Regions from separate parts of the Homo sapiens genome. Here all the other regions are linked to region 1. The links are contacts of gene promoters, found by promoter capture Hi-C in blood cells and fetal thymus (Javierre and others, 2016). All regions are on one chromosome and are shown on one strand. Each heading gives the region's core, a stretch centred on a gene start or on the middle of the fragment in contact. The rest is flanking DNA. Distances are from core to core; before and after follow the strand shown. Region 1 holds the start of RALGPS2 (Ral GEF with PH domain and SH3 binding motif 2). Region 2 overlaps FAM163A (family with sequence similarity 163 member A). Region 3 holds the start of QSOX1 (quiescin sulfhydryl oxidase 1).

What was found. The method cuts DNA at HindIII sites, captures the fragments that hold promoters and counts their contacts. A CHiCAGO score of 5 or more calls a contact.
Region 2: a fragment that was not itself captured here is called in contact with the fragment with the promoter of RALGPS2 in region 1 in 1 of 17 cell types (non-activated CD4 T cells); the score reaches 5.2 in non-activated CD4 T cells.
Region 3: the fragment with the promoter of QSOX1 here is called in contact with the fragment with the promoter of RALGPS2 in region 1 in 1 of 17 cell types (non-activated CD4 T cells); the score reaches 5.6 in non-activated CD4 T cells.

What each region holds. Positions count from the first base shown.
Region 1 is chr1:178,723,872-178,726,571 of GRCh38, reverse strand. RALGPS2 (Ral GEF with PH domain and SH3 binding motif 2) reads right to left here and starts at 1,328. Exons shown (of 20, transcript NM_152663.5): 1 at 1,153-1,328. It overlaps RALGPS2-AS1 (RALGPS2 antisense RNA 1), which reads left to right and starts at 288. Exons shown (of 1, transcript NR_187252.1): 1 at 288-2,700. RefSeq lists silencers at 519-748, 949-1,068, 1,329-1,498, 1,400-1,554 and an enhancer at 389-978. The HindIII fragment of the contact is 4,509 bases long and covers 1-2,700 here.
Region 2 is chr1:179,814,182-179,816,881 of GRCh38, reverse strand. It overlaps FAM163A (family with sequence similarity 163 member A), which reads right to left. Exons shown (of 5, transcript NM_173509.3): 5 at 684-2,700. The coding sequence ends at 2,693. It overlaps LOC105371634 (a long non-coding RNA gene), which reads left to right. Exons shown (of 5, transcript XR_007066756.1): 4 at 355-1,983; 5 at 2,288-2,587. Among named protein-coding and RNA genes, the nearest start is that of MIR12116, 12 kb to the right of the region's middle. The HindIII fragment of the contact is 2,471 bases long and covers 74-2,544 here.
Region 3 is chr1:180,153,432-180,156,131 of GRCh38, reverse strand. It overlaps QSOX1 (quiescin sulfhydryl oxidase 1), which reads right to left and starts at 1,263. Exons shown (of 12, transcript NM_002826.5): 1 at 960-1,263. The coding sequence starts at 1,224. It overlaps LOC105371636 (a long non-coding RNA gene), which reads left to right and starts at 1,294. Exons shown (of 2, transcript XR_001738314.3): 1 at 1,294-2,133. RefSeq lists an enhancer at 989-1,088 and a silencer at 1,269-1,588. The HindIII fragment of the contact is 9,170 bases long and covers 1-2,700 here.

The DNA of each region.
Region 1 (2,700 bases), core at 79-2,578:
AGATATTTCTTTTGGGGTTTTTTTTTTTTAACAGAAATTTAGTATTTCAATTGCCCCTCCTCCACAGCTAACATCAGTGCCCTTTCTTCCTCCTCCCTTACCCCTCCCAACTCAAACAAATTAACATTTGTACTAGGTACCTCCTATCAGCTCGCAGCTTCTTCCCAAACACGCCCACGTACACTGAAACTGGCTTGCGTCTACACAACACACAGCTACAGGAAAAGAGCTTCGAGGGGGGAGCTGGGGCGGGGGGTTAATAATTCGCTCCGCACAGGTTTACGGCTATTTTCCAGAAACTAGTTCCTCGCTCGTGGCTCGCGTTTCTTCCAAATCACCTCAAAAGCACGGTGTTTATGAGCCTACCTAATCCGATACTGCAATGGAATTCCGGATATTTGCAGACAGATCTCCCGGCTTTGCAAGTGTTTGATGAGATACGTTCGGAATCTCCTTTTTTTTCTAGAGCCCGGTTCCAGGCCGTAGAGCAAGCCGACCTGGGGCTGCGGCCCCTGCCCCACACCCGGCCCGCGCGCCCGGCCCGAGGCCAGCACAGGACGCAGCCCCTCCGGGGCCGGGGCTGGCGGGGGCCGCTCGGGCTGCGGGCCGCTCTGCAACAGGTCACCCTGACCGCGACTCCGCGGGTTCGCGGGCGGCCAACTCTGCGGCCAGGCTTCTGGGCGCAGCCGCCAGGGCCAGGGGAGGGGGTGTGGCCCGGCTTCTGCTGGTCCTGGCTCCGAGGTCCGGGATCGGGCTCACCTGAAGGAAGACTGAGGCGCCGCTGGGCGCCAGAACAGAGCGGGCGGAGGCTGGGGGCTTCCGCCACCCAAGAGGGAGAGCGAGGCGGGTTCAAGGGGTCGCAGCGCCCCCGGCTTCAGGACGGCGCCCCCGAGCGGGGACCCCACGGCCGCTCCGACTCTGAGAACCCGCGGCCGAGGGAGGCGCGCCGCCCAGCGCCCTTCTCCCTCAGCCTCAGCCCCAGCTCCGCAGCCCCCTCCCTGCGCGCAGGGCGAGCAGCCCCGGGGCCCGCGGCCGGGAGAGCCACACTCCGCAGCGCCGCCGCCGCCATTCCCCGCGCCGCCCGGGGGGCGCCGCGTACCCACCCTCCCTCCCTCCCTCCCCCGCACCGCCCCGCGGCCTGAGCCCACCGACCTGTGCAGCCGCGGCCGTCGCCTCAGAGGACGGAAAGACGATGCCGGCCTCACGCTTCACCGCCACGGCCGCCGCCGCCTAGAGTAGCACTCGTCGACCCGAACAGTCACCGTCTCTCATTCAGCGCCCGCAGCAGCCGCCGCCGCCGCCGCCGCTGCCGCTCGGGGGAGGAGAGTGAGCTGGAACCACCCCGTCCGCGCCAGGGGTGGGGGACGAGAGCGGACCTGGCGGGGGCGCGCGCCAAGCGGGCGGGGCGGAGCCGCGCGCGCGCGCGCACCAACGGAGCGCGCTCGCGGGGGCTCTGAGAGCTGCAGCCGTCAGGGTCTTAACCTCGCGCTTCCCGCCCGCAGCTTTTCGGCCCCGCGGAGCCCAACTGCCGCCGGTGATCGGTGCCCGCAGCGCGCGCAGCCATCCGCAACCCCACCGCCCGGCGCCTGCTGAAAGGAGGGGCTCCCACCGGCCAAACAACGGGGGGGGGAAGGGGTAGGAGGATGGACAGGTGGGGCGTCCGCCACCGCCTGGCCACCCGCTCCCGGAACGCGGCCCTCTGTGAAATCCGCCGTGATGTCTGTGGCCTTCAGCGCCGGGCTCTTCACCTTTAAGGCCAGAGAACAAAGTCTGGAAGCACTTGGCCCCAAGATCAAATATCCAGCCCACGCCAGCGGTGTTTTTAGAAGTCACTGAGGACAAATGAGGGGGCTCCCAATGTGGAGAGTCACCCCACTGTCTTAGATAAGGTCATAAATTATGGTGATCAACATCCTCACACATTAAGATTCGGGAAGTGTTAGAAGTAGGCCTTTGTAAGATGTTACGCAGGGTACTACCCTTGACTTAAGGAGCAAATGACAGAAATTGGGCGGAAAGGTGTTGTTTCAGAGTCTACTAAATGGGTGGCCTACTTAAAGCTAGCACCATTTGATGCAGTGTGACTGTTAACGGAAGGTTTTAAGTGAGCCGCCTTTGTATCTGCTGTCATTAGACCATTTGGAAATGGATAATTATTTGATGATCTGCAGTTCTTTCTCTAGGCAATGTGCAGTAGAATGTGGAAAGAATACTATGTACCAGCATTAAGTGTAAAACATGAAAGGACCAATAATTCACTATTCCCATTTGGTTTCTTTCTTCCCTTTAATAACCGCTAAACAGAACTGATTAATCTTGAACGTTGAAGATTGCTAATTATTTCCTCCTTTGATTGCCTTCTGTCATAGCCCTTTTACTCTAGTTGGGGACGCTAGAATGCCCTTCAACCTCCTTCTCTCAAATAGGGTTACTTTAAAGCACCCCAACGCAAAGTTAAGTCAAAAAGAAAAACAGCGAGGATAGGCAACAAAGTTCGTAGTGTTTCATTTTTATTCCATTTTACTTTCAAAGAAAGTCTTGAATCATGACGAAATCACTAGAAGAAGTAGAGCAATCAAAAGAAGAAAAAAAGCGTTCCCCCCCACCCAATATTTCAAATGACAAGAGTCCAAAAAAGAAAAGAAAAAGGAAGATGATTGGTAAAAAGGAGGGAAGTGCATTATGTATACAGAAAGTTTT
Region 2 (2,700 bases), core at 60-2,559, 1.1 Mb before region 1:
AAAGTGTACAAGTAGTGTCCCTTAGCACAGACTAGACAGCAGAAAAGGACAGTGCAGTTGAGTGGGGGAAGCTTCCTTTTCCACAGGGTGGGGCCCTGCGGCTGCAGCGGGCAGGCAGGCAATCTCGAGCCTGGTTGGAGACCGTGCCCTGAGCAGCGTGGGCTATGTGGGGAAGAGCTGGGGCCCACCATCTCTCCAGCACCCCAAACCCAGATTCTGATTTGTGGGGCTAGCAGGGCTTAGCTAGGAAAGCGGTAGGAGGGAGGGGATTGCACAGGACGCTTGTACTCAGGGACCCCATCAATCAGGGGCAAGAAGTGGGTGATGGTTAACTGGGTCTTGATTTTTACAAAGGCAGGACGTACGAATGATGTTATTTCTGGCAAGGAGGACACGGCTGCTGTGGTTGATTGGCTGTGGAATTCCAGGGGAGCAAGGCACTAGGAAGTGGGGAACGCTGCCAGGCCCAGCAGCTCATCAGGAGCTTGCACTTGGCCCAGTTAGGGCTGGCCGTGGGACGGGCTTGTTGAAGCTGCTGCCGCCATAAGCTGCCCCTCTGCACCAGGAGACAGATCCCATTACCCCACCTACAGCTGCTTCCTGGTACAAGAGAAGAGTTACCATTTGAAATGACTCCACAGGAGAGTCTGACAAACATGTTTGCTTTTCACTGACAATTAAAATTGTTTTGCTGCTAATCTTGTTTTATTGTGGTCTTTCATCCATCAGCAAGCATCCCTGCACGCAAGATCAGAGTTGGGTAAATACATCCAGACCCTGCCAGGATTAGGGCAAGAGGGAGTGCTCTGGGCCGGCAGATCTTTTTCGGAAATTCTCACTTCTTGGAGCACTAAAGGGTTGTTAGTCTATCTGGGCAAGCCTCGTTTCCCTGGAGAAAATGGAGTCTCAGAGATTAGTGACTGGTCCTAGAGCTAATGAGTGACCAAAGTGTGACCAGAGCCCAGGTCTGCTTCTCAACCCAGGGCACTTTGATTCCAGATTGAGATGTAAGGTGACAGGTGCCTTAATAGTGGCGCAAAAGATGTGCATTCCCCTCTTCCTCCCTCCCCGCTCCCTGCTCCCCCAGCGGCACCCTGACCTTCCTCAAATGCAGAATCAAGATTTCAGCAGGGGGGCCAGCCCTTTCCCTGCCCCACCCTCCTCGAATTCAGTGACTCAGGAGTGGGAAGGGGGTTAGCTATGCCCTTAGAAGGGGGCCAGCTTCTGCAGAGGCCACTGGAAAACTCATCAGGATTCTCACTCACAAAGCCACTGCCACATTCTAAGTAGGAAGTCGGAGTTGGAAATGAGGCTGGTGTGAGACACAATAAATGGCTCATCGCCAGGAAACTGGGGAGTAGGGCGGCCAAGGGAGGGCGGCGAGCGTGGAATCCCAAGGCTAAGTCACGTCCCTCCCATCCTCAGGACTGGGCTGTTGCTCTGGTGAGATGAATGAAGATCCTGCTCCACGGCGTCACAGGTGGATGCTTACATAGAATGCCGGGCTCTGGGGGACTTGACGTGGTTTCAGCCGCTGCAGCATCGCCCCACAGAGATTCTGTGCTCTTCCTGTTCACCAGCCCGCTGTCTGCCATGGGGATTGGTCACGTGTTAACCACCTTTCGTTCAAGCTGTTTCGGGATCAGACTTTTCCTTCTCTGGTACATGGGAGACCTTTCCTCTCTGCAGCTCCTGAATGTACAAAGCCCCTGGTGCCTACCCGTGGTTACTGTGTGTGTGTGTGTGTGTGTGTGTGTGTGTGTGTGTCTGTGCGCGCGCGCGCGCGTGCGTACACCTGGGAACGGTTATGCACACCCTCACAGGACTGCATCCACACAAGCTACTCGGCGTGGTGGGCTGGGCCGAGAGACAGTCAGCTGGTCTCTTTGCTAAGCTACCAGAAGTCGGCTAACAAAATGAAAAAACTTCTCCAGCAGGGGGCGCTGGTTCCTAAGTCAGAGAAAGGATTTCGGGGAACACAAGGTTAGACACTTTCTGGTGCAGTCCCCACAAGCCACCTTAGGCTTTAAAGTCAACTTGACACGTCCCACGAGGAAGGGGGCAGGTGAGATGTGATACGTTCAGGAATCAACGACCCTACGGGAGCAGCTACAGTGACAGCAGTAGCTATGGTAACCAACGTACAAAGCTGGGCTGTGAACTAGCTGTTGGAGTCGTTTCAGCAAGCGCGTCCTGAAGCAGTGCCGTTGACGCCCCGCCCCTCGCTTCTCCAATGCTGGAATTGTAGCTCTCACTTCTCTCCTTGCCCTCTGTCCCCTTTTCCTAGGCACGGATGCTTCATCTCCCGAGGACCCGGGAGGCCTCCTGAGCCTTTGCTGAGCTTTCCCTGGTGCTCCTTTTTGCAGTCCAGCGAATCCAGGGGACTGGGGCACACTGCAAGGGGTTGTGGTGGTGCTGGGGCTGCCAGAGGAGTGTCCCAACCAAGAAACTGGCGAAGCTGCAGACTCGACCTAGCAGTCCCCCACCTCTGGCCCACAGAGTTGGAGCCAGGCCCTGTCTTGGTTCTCAATGCACTCAAAAGCTTAAATCCTAGTAAACCCTCCACTGCGGAGCGAGAAAAGCCAAAGAAACAGAAACAACCCATGTGGGGCTGTTGGAGGGTCATTCATCACCCCCATGGCCCCCGCCAGGGCAGCAGTGTGGGTGTGTGTGCGGGTCGGGGTGGAAGGATTTACACGT
Region 3 (2,700 bases), core at 14-2,513, 1.4 Mb before region 1:
GTAAATATTAATTACTATTATTACCATATTTCCTCGACTCTAAGTCTTAAGTGTTTCAAAATTTTAGCATTTCTGTAATAGAGTTCACCTTCAAATCTTTATACATGTAGTGGTTTTTTCCTATCCTTCTACCCCTTGGGCTGTCATAAAATGAACAGTGTGTCTCACAGTTGATGGTGTCTTGGAATTCAGGAAATATAGTTTTGGTGCCCCAACCAGGGATTGGGAACATGGAGCAAGAGCCAAACACGCACCAAAGGCCTCTGGGTGCATGGGTTTAAAATATAAGGGTCTGAGCGGGGGAAGAGAGAGAAGGATGTGGCCCAGAAGCTAAGGAGCTGGAGGCGGCAGGTCAGGAGAGGCCCGGAACAGAGATAGGAAAACTGCCAGGTGGACATACCCACATCAAAGACAAAAATGAGAAAGGAAGTCTATGTACCACCTGGTCAACCAGTCGAGGGAGTGGAGAAAGGTGGCAGGGAGGCAAAATGGATGTCCGTTCCCTTTTCTCCCCAGCACTGACCCACAGCAGCTAGGGAACCTGGCAGGAAGATGACATGGGTCCCTGGACGAGAGGAAGAGGACTGCCACAAGGCTGGCCCAGGAAACGGTAAGGTGTCAGCGGACCATGCGGAGGAAGGAACAAAGGAGACCTCTCGCAGGGAAGGAGGCAGTAACCTGGCGGGGGACGAACCGGGCGAGCAGGGCAGGTCTGGGGGCCCAGGCCGCGGAGAGGGAAAGAAGCTCGGGATGAGGGCCAAGAGGAAAAGGCAAGGGAGCGGGAGGCAAAAATGGAGCTGAGAAACATGAAGGTGGTGGGCGTGGGATGCGCGGAGAGGAAGAGGTGGGCGGAGGTGACTGGAAGAGGGACGCGCTCCCGGAGTAGGAGGCTGCCCACCGGGCAGGTGGAGGGGTCCGGGCGGCGGGGCACGGGGGAGCGGGCCGCCCCCGCTTCTCACCTTTGACGTCTTCGGCCAGCGCCTTCCACGTCGGGGCGAAGGCGATGCAGTGGCCGCACCAGGAGGCGAAGAACTCCACGGCCCAGGCGCTGCGGGAGCCCAGCACCGCGCCGCGCACCGTGTCCGCCTGCAGCAGCGTCAGCGGGTCGGAAGGCGAATAGAGCGCCGACCGCGGGGCCGCGTTAGCGCCGGGAACCGCGAGCAGCCACAGCAGCAGCAGCAGCAGCGACGGCGGCGGCCCGGAGCCGCTGTTGCACCTCCTCATCCTCGGCGCTGCGCTCACCACCACACGCAAGCACCGGATGAGTCGGGTCCCGGCGCCGCGGCACCGCCTGCCTCCGCCCGCAAGGAGGAGCCACGTGGCCCCGCCCCTGAGCCCCCGCCCCCGAGCCCCCGCCCCCGAGGCCGGCCCAGCCACCCCGCCCCGCCGGCCGCTCCTGGGCGCGGGAGCGGGCGGGGCTGAGCTTGTTGCAGGGGCTGGCCCTGGCCGGGTGGTGAGCCATCCTTTCGCGGTCCGCCGAGGCCTCGGAGCAGCGCGACCCGGGTTCCCGCCTCAGGCCCCAGGAGGCGAGGTGTACAGTCCGGTAAAGGAATGGAGCGCCCGCCGAGCGGTCGCTGCGGGGGTAGCCTCGCGGAGGTTGTTTGGCCTCTCACGGCCCCCGTATCCAACGGAAGAGGAGTCCGTTGGAATAGACGACCCGGATTTCGGCTGTTGTAGGGCAGTTCCTGGGCTCCCGCGGAGCGATGAGACGTTGTGAATTAGATGTGAGAAGAGGGACGCTTGGTCTGCGACCACCAAGACCCCACAGGATCGATGCACCCACCCCTGCTGATGACCATGACCATCTAAAGGGGAACATCATTTGAGGGGCCCTACTCATGGATCAGAAGCCCCTCTTCACTGTGGGGTGTGCTGGGTTGGCGGGCAGTTGCCGTGGAATCAGTTTCCTCAGGACCCATATCTGACCACCCTCATAAGGTTGTCAGGGCGATTCCAACATTCGGGGTTCCCAGCAGCCCAGATCCCCCACATCCAGCTCTTCAGCCTACTCAGAGCTCTCCACGCTCACTCACATGTCCCTCTCGCAAGTAGCCCGATCAACTCACCTGGTGTCATGGGCACTAAGGTGTTAATGGATTTTCTCTGGTCACCTTTGCAGCTCCACTGTTTTGAGTGAGTTATTTTAAGGGGAGAAGGTGCTCCTCAGACGGTTGTCACAGTGATATTTTTCCTTTGTGACTGCCAGGTTAGCCCCTTTCACCTGTAAGAGCTTTGAGCCTAGATTTGTTATTCATTTATTCAAGTTTTACTGAGTGGTGTCATGCCAGGCACTTGTTTAGGTATAAGGATAAGGCAGTAAACAAAATATAGACTCTAGGGACGTGGAACTTACATTCCAGTGGGGGTAAAGAGATGATACATAAGTAAATGTAGATCAGATGGTGACCGATGTTATGAAGAAATGTAGACTGGGGTAAGAATAGAGTGGCAGAGGAGGTGCTATTTTACACACGAAGATCAGGGACAGGTCTACCCTTAATATTTGCAAGAACTGAGTCAGTAGTACAAATGGAGGCCCACATATCATGTCTACATATTTTAAAACTACAAATTAAACGGTGATGTAAAATTCCTATCCTTTTATCTTGACATGTATACCTTCATCATAATCTGGAAGGCCACATTTAAGTTTAGGATTCTTGGACCCTTCTGAGATACGCCCTCGAATGTAGTGCTTTG